Regions from separate parts of the Homo sapiens genome. Here region 2 is linked to region 1. Evidence: promoter capture Hi-C in human tissues and cell types (Jung and others, 2019). All regions are on one chromosome and are shown on one strand. The core of a region is centred on a gene start or on the middle of the fragment in contact, and the rest is flanking DNA. Distances in the headings are between cores, read along the strand shown. Region 1 holds the start of LRRC20 (leucine rich repeat containing 20). Region 2 overlaps EIF4EBP2 (eukaryotic translation initiation factor 4E binding protein 2).

Region 1 (2,750 bases), core at 74-2,573:
TATTTATCATCCTCTTCTCTTTATTCCTACTAACCTATTGTAGTTTTTTCCTAGGGCTGCTATAACAAATGGACATAAACTGGGTGGCAACAGAAATTTATTCACTTACAGCTCTGGAAGCTATTAAGTCCAAAATCAAGGTGTCTGGAGGGTTAGTTCCTTTTTGGAGGCTCTGAAGGAGGAATTATTCCCTGCCCGTTCCTAGCTTCTGGTCCCTGCTGGCAGTGCTTGGCACTCCTGGCCTTGGAAATGCATCAGCTGATCCCTGCCGCCATCACCACAGGTGGTTCTCCCTGTGCGTCTCTTCTGTGTCTCTTCTCTTACAACGACACCAGTCTCAGTGGATTAGGGGCCCGCCCTACTCCAGCATGACCTTAACTCATTACATCTGCAACGGCCCTACTTCCAAATAAGATCACATTCTGATGAACTTTAACATATTGTTGGGGGTGGAGAGGGCATAAGTAACCCTTAACATCCATCGAGGCCCAAGGGAATGTGTGTTCTTTGACTGCCTAGACCCCCTAGAGGCGGAATTAAATATTCTTTTTTTTTTCTTTGAGACAGAGTCTCACTCTGTCCACTCAGGTTGGAGTGCCCATCTCGGCTCACTGCAACCTCCGCCTCCCGGGTTCAAGCGATTCTCCTGCCTCAGCATCCCGAGTAGCTGCGGCTACAGGCGCCTGCCACCACGCCCGGCTAATTTTTGTATTTTTAGTAGAGACGGGGGTTTTGCCATGTTGGCCAGGCTGGTCTCGAACTCCCGACCTCAGGTGATCCGTCTACCTCGGCCTCCCAAAGTGCTGGGATTACAGGCGTGAGTCGCCGCGCCCCGCCCTCAAGTCATATTTTATAGATGAGAACATTAGGATTGGAGACGCAGGGCCGAGACACAGGGCCTTGCATATACTAAAAACCTCAATGGGCACCCGAAGTCATCATAGGAAAATTTCCCTATGCTCCATGTTCACGTGTTTCAAAGTATCCCTGATCTGGCTAATTCAACTCCATTCCCTCGAGAAAACCCAATCTGGAGCCCCGGTCCTAGAGATCCTGGGATGTACTGCGCGTCCCACTCTGTATCTCCGCCCCCTCAGGCGTTCTCCCTCTAGAAGCAGCACACAAAGCGGTTACTCCCTGCGGCCGGGAGCGCGCGGGCTGCCCTTCCGCGCGCCACCCCCGCGCGCGCCGCTCCCCCACTGATTGGCTGAGCGCATCCCGAGCCCAGCCTGCTCCCGCCGCGGCGCCGGTCCTGGCGCCGGGATTGGCGGAGTGGCCGCGCGCGCAGATCCCGCAGCCCCGCGCGCCCCGCCCCGCCGGCTCGGAACTCGCCTGGGGCGCCGCCGGCGGCGGAGGGAGCGTGACTGCGCTGCGCAGGGCGCTAGGAGGCATTGTCGCCGTAAGTGGAGCCAAAAGCGGCCCGGAGCGGGACCACACGCTTCTTGCCCCGCAAAGTAAATGTAGTCCGAGGTCAAGCGTTGCAGGGGCTGGGGGAGAGAGGGCGAGAAGTGTTCCGATTTTTGCAGCGTCCCCTCCCCTCCCCCAGGTCACCCGGTGGAAAAGAGCAGCGGTGCACCAGCGGAGGCTCTGGCGGTGCCAAGGGGCTCGGCATGCGCGGGCTCTTGCTTGCTCACTGCACCTGGACCCCGATGGTTCAGGGGAGTGGGTGCAGAGGTGCCAGGGAATAGGGAGCTCGGAGAACCGCTCCCAGGCGGGCCTCCATTCCTCGCGGGAGGCGCCCTTGCTTGGAGAGGCTGCTGTGCATTTCGTCCCCGAAGCGACACTTTCGGGGTTTGCTTCCGCTCTGGGGAGCTGCAGACGCCTGCTCCAGAGCGTGCCTCTCGGCCTCCGGGCAGCGTGGGAGCCCCGGGGCCTCTGCGATCACTACCATTCTTCCCTCTGCCAGCTTTATTCTCCCAGTCCCCGCCTGCCGGGCCAGCGGACGAGGTGCCATTGGCTGCAGGCACCGGGGGTGAGGCGGATCCTGGCACGCGGGGCTGGGGGACCCTTGCCTGGCTACCGCGCGTAGTGCTGGAGGCTCAGTCCGAGGATGCCTAGATGTTAGCGAGGGAGCACGCGCTGAGCTTCCCGAACCCCATGCCACAAAAACAAGGCGCCAGCAGGTCCCGCTCACGTCCCAGCGGGCTTCTTTCCCTGGGGTGGGGAAGTGGGTCAACTTCGTTCTGATCTGAAGGGGGGTTTGGGACTATTTGGGTCGCTCCTCACCTCCCCACCCGCTCCCCGGCTTGGCATGGTCCAGAGCCCGGGCTGGAGCCAGCGGTAGGGCCAGCTTGCACACATGGCTCCGGAGGCTCCGGTTGCCCATCCGAGCCCCTGCCAGGCTCTAACGTTCCCAACTGACAACACCAGTAACTAAATATAGGAGCAGATGGTGGGGACGGGCTGTCGCAGCGGCTCCTTTGCAGAGGTCTCCGGACTGCAGATAAGGTAGAGTTATTGATGGTAAGGGCTGGAGTCAGGGGGCCAGGTCAGGGTTTAAGCAAAAATCACCCCTCCCCCAGCCAGCCTGAGTCCAGGTGAAACCAGGTTATAGGGACAGGAGGGCTGTATTGCCAGCTCCCCCAAAGCAGGACAACGTTTTTGTCTGGCATTGAATTTATTACATCCAAACTTCCTCTCTACACCTGTTTGATTACCTACTGGTAATGCCTTGGTGTGGGAAACATGTAATGGTTCGCAAAGTCCTTTCCCAAAAGTTACATATCAGTTACTTCCCACAATAATCCGGT
Region 2 (2,750 bases), core at 192-2,691, 35 kb before region 1:
TAACATTAACATCTTTAAGAAAAAAAAAGTTTTAAATGAAAGAATAAACAAGTATGAGAAAAAATAAACAGCCCCTTTTAAAGGCTTTCCAAAGAAGGACTGAGACTAACATTCTTCTCACAGCTATAGTCAAAGCTGAAACTGGCAGCCCCTCTCTATTCTACAAAACAATCTGCTTACCAGTTAAGTGCTACCTGAATGTTTTAAAAACAATAGTTTTGAAGAGTACACTTTAACTGATAAACAGTTATGGAAACGTGCTGCTTACAAATGGTCAACAGGTACATTAAAAGGTGCTCGACATCACTAATCATCAAGGAAATGCAAATCAAAACGACAATGAGATATCACTTCACATCTCTTAGGATGGCTATTATCAAAAAGACAAGAGAGCCTGGGCATGGTGGCTCATGCCTGTAATTCCAACAGTTTGGGAGTCCAAGGCAGGAGGACTGCTTGAGCCCAGGAGTCTGAGTCTAGTCTGGGCCACATAGTGAGACCCTGTCTCTAAAAAAATTATTTTAAAAAGAGCCAAGTGAGGTGCTGTTGGTCTGAAGTCCCTACTACTCGGGGGTTGAGCCAGGAGAATAGCTTGAGTCCAGGAGTTCGAGGCTACAGTGAGCTATGACTGCACCACTGCACTCCAGCCTGGGCAACAGAGCAAGATCCTGCCTCAAAATGTAAATCAAATATAATTTTAGGACAAGGAAAGTAGAAACTTACCTTCAACCTCTTTGCTTTGAAAAACAAAAACTAGAGTAGCACTCAAAAAGGCATCTAGAAATTATGAGGAACGAGGCATTCTGGGTAGCACAAAACTTAGTTCAACTTTCAAAGGGTAAACAATTTCAATTATCTTGAATGAAAATACTTCTAATACAGATTTAAATCCCTTTATGGCCTTCAACAGAAAATGATTCAACCCTCTTGATGAATCACAGTATTATGAAAATTGTTTATTATACTATGTTGTGACCTAAGAAGTCTCTAAGCCCTATCAAGTTGGTGCTCTGTACAGCTGAACATCACTATACAGAGTTCGGATGGTCAAAGTTGTGCTGGTGCACCCCTCCCCCACAGTGCCCTTGTCCCCTTAGACTAAGAGCTACCTTTTTTCCAGGCTACTACTATGACTCAGTCAGCTTAGGCTGCCATAACAAAATACCACAGACTGCACAACTTAAACAACAGAAATTGTCTCATAGTTCTGGAGGCTAGAAGTCCAACACTAAGATGCCAGCATGGATGGTTTCTGGTGAGGGCTCTCTTCCTGGCTTGTAGGTAGCTGCCTTCTCTTTGTGTCCCTTACATGGGGGTAAGGGGGCCTCAACTCTGTGGTGTTCCATCTTATAAGGGCACAAATCCCATCATGAGGGTCCCACCTTTATGACCTCAACTCAGCCTAATTAACTCCCAAAGGCACCACCTCCTAATACTATCATGTTGGGAATTAAGGTTTCAACATAAGAATTTTGGGGAGACACAATTCAATCTGTATAGCACACCCTTAACACCCTTTCTAACTTGGTGTTTCTAGTCTGGTGGGTTTGGAAATCAGCAACTTGCTTATTAGCATGCTATGTAAAATAAGGGCAAATAGGCTGAAAGGGGGTCTGATGGCCTTCCAATGAACAAAGGGAAGGAGCTTTAACAATGGACTTTGCCTATCTGTTTGAGTTACCCCACTTTTGTTCATGATGAGATTTCAGAAGGGTGAGGTTTCACTGTCAGATGAGTCAACTTGCAAACTGGAACAAGATTATTCTTACTTCTGTAGTACATCAAGCTTGGAAATTGTGGAGATGAGGTGGTGAAAAAAGCACAGCACAGAAGCAAGCTTTCTAAATTATGTATCAGCAACAACGCATACATTAAAGAATTGCAATTAAACCAACTAGGATATAGGTAGTGGAGATTCTGCCTAAATGTGTGAGGTATAAGAGAAACTCTGAAGAACCTCTATGACCTTAAAGAGCTGATAAGATACGGTATTTTACAAGTTTATTGAAATAGCATTCATTTACAATTGATCCACTTACAGTGTATAATTCAATAGTTTTAGTTGATTCGCAGGACTGTACAATCATCACCATAATCAATTTTAGAACCCTTTCATTACCCCCATAACCTCCCCCAACCCCTTAGATGCCACCTGATCTCCCCACACCCTCTGACCCTAGGCAACCACTAATCTACTTTCTGTCTCTATATAGTTTTACCTACTCTGGCCATTTCATATAAATGGAATCATACAATACAGTCTTTTGTGACTGCTTCTTTCACTTTCATAATGTCTTCAAAGTTCATTTATGTTGTAGCATTTATCAGTACCTCATTTCTTTTTCATTACCAAATATTTCATTGTATGTATATATCGCACCTTATCAATTTATCAGTTGATGGACTGGTAAGTCGATAAAAACAAGTCCATCAACTGATAAATGGGTTGTTTCCACTTTTTGTCTATTATGAATAACATTCACGTACAAGTTTTCATGTGAACACATTTCCATTCTCTTGGGTATATACCAAACTAAAAAAGTGGAATTAGCCAGGCATGGCTCACACCTGTAATCCCAGCACTTTGGGAGGCCAACGTGTATTACTTGACCTCACAAGTTCAAGACCAGCCTGGGCAACATGGCAAAATCCCGTCTCTTAAAAAAAAATACAAAAATTAGCCAGGCGTGGTGTTGCATGCCTATAGTCCCAGCTGCTGGGGAGGCTGAGGTGGGAGGATCACTTAAGCC

The links. Contacts are between HindIII fragments. The study calls those that stand out against the background at their distance.
Region 2: a fragment that was not itself captured here is called in contact with the fragment with the promoter of LRRC20 in region 1 in 1 of the 25 tissues and cell types used here (mesendoderm cells).

The regions. Positions count from the first base shown.
Region 1 is chr10:70,381,198-70,383,947 of GRCh38, reverse strand. LRRC20 (leucine rich repeat containing 20) reads left to right here and starts at 1,323. Exons shown (of 5, transcript NM_001278212.2): 1 at 1,323-1,399. RefSeq lists enhancers at 819-918, 1,449-1,648, 1,493-2,112 and a silencer at 1,049-1,418. The HindIII fragment of the contact is 15,501 bases long and covers 1-2,750 here.
Region 2 is chr10:70,416,759-70,419,508 of GRCh38, reverse strand. The region is part of intron 1 of EIF4EBP2 (eukaryotic translation initiation factor 4E binding protein 2); the gene reads right to left. Among named protein-coding and RNA genes, the nearest start is that of EIF4EBP2, 14 kb to the right of the region's middle. The HindIII fragment of the contact is 5,600 bases long and covers 1-2,750 here.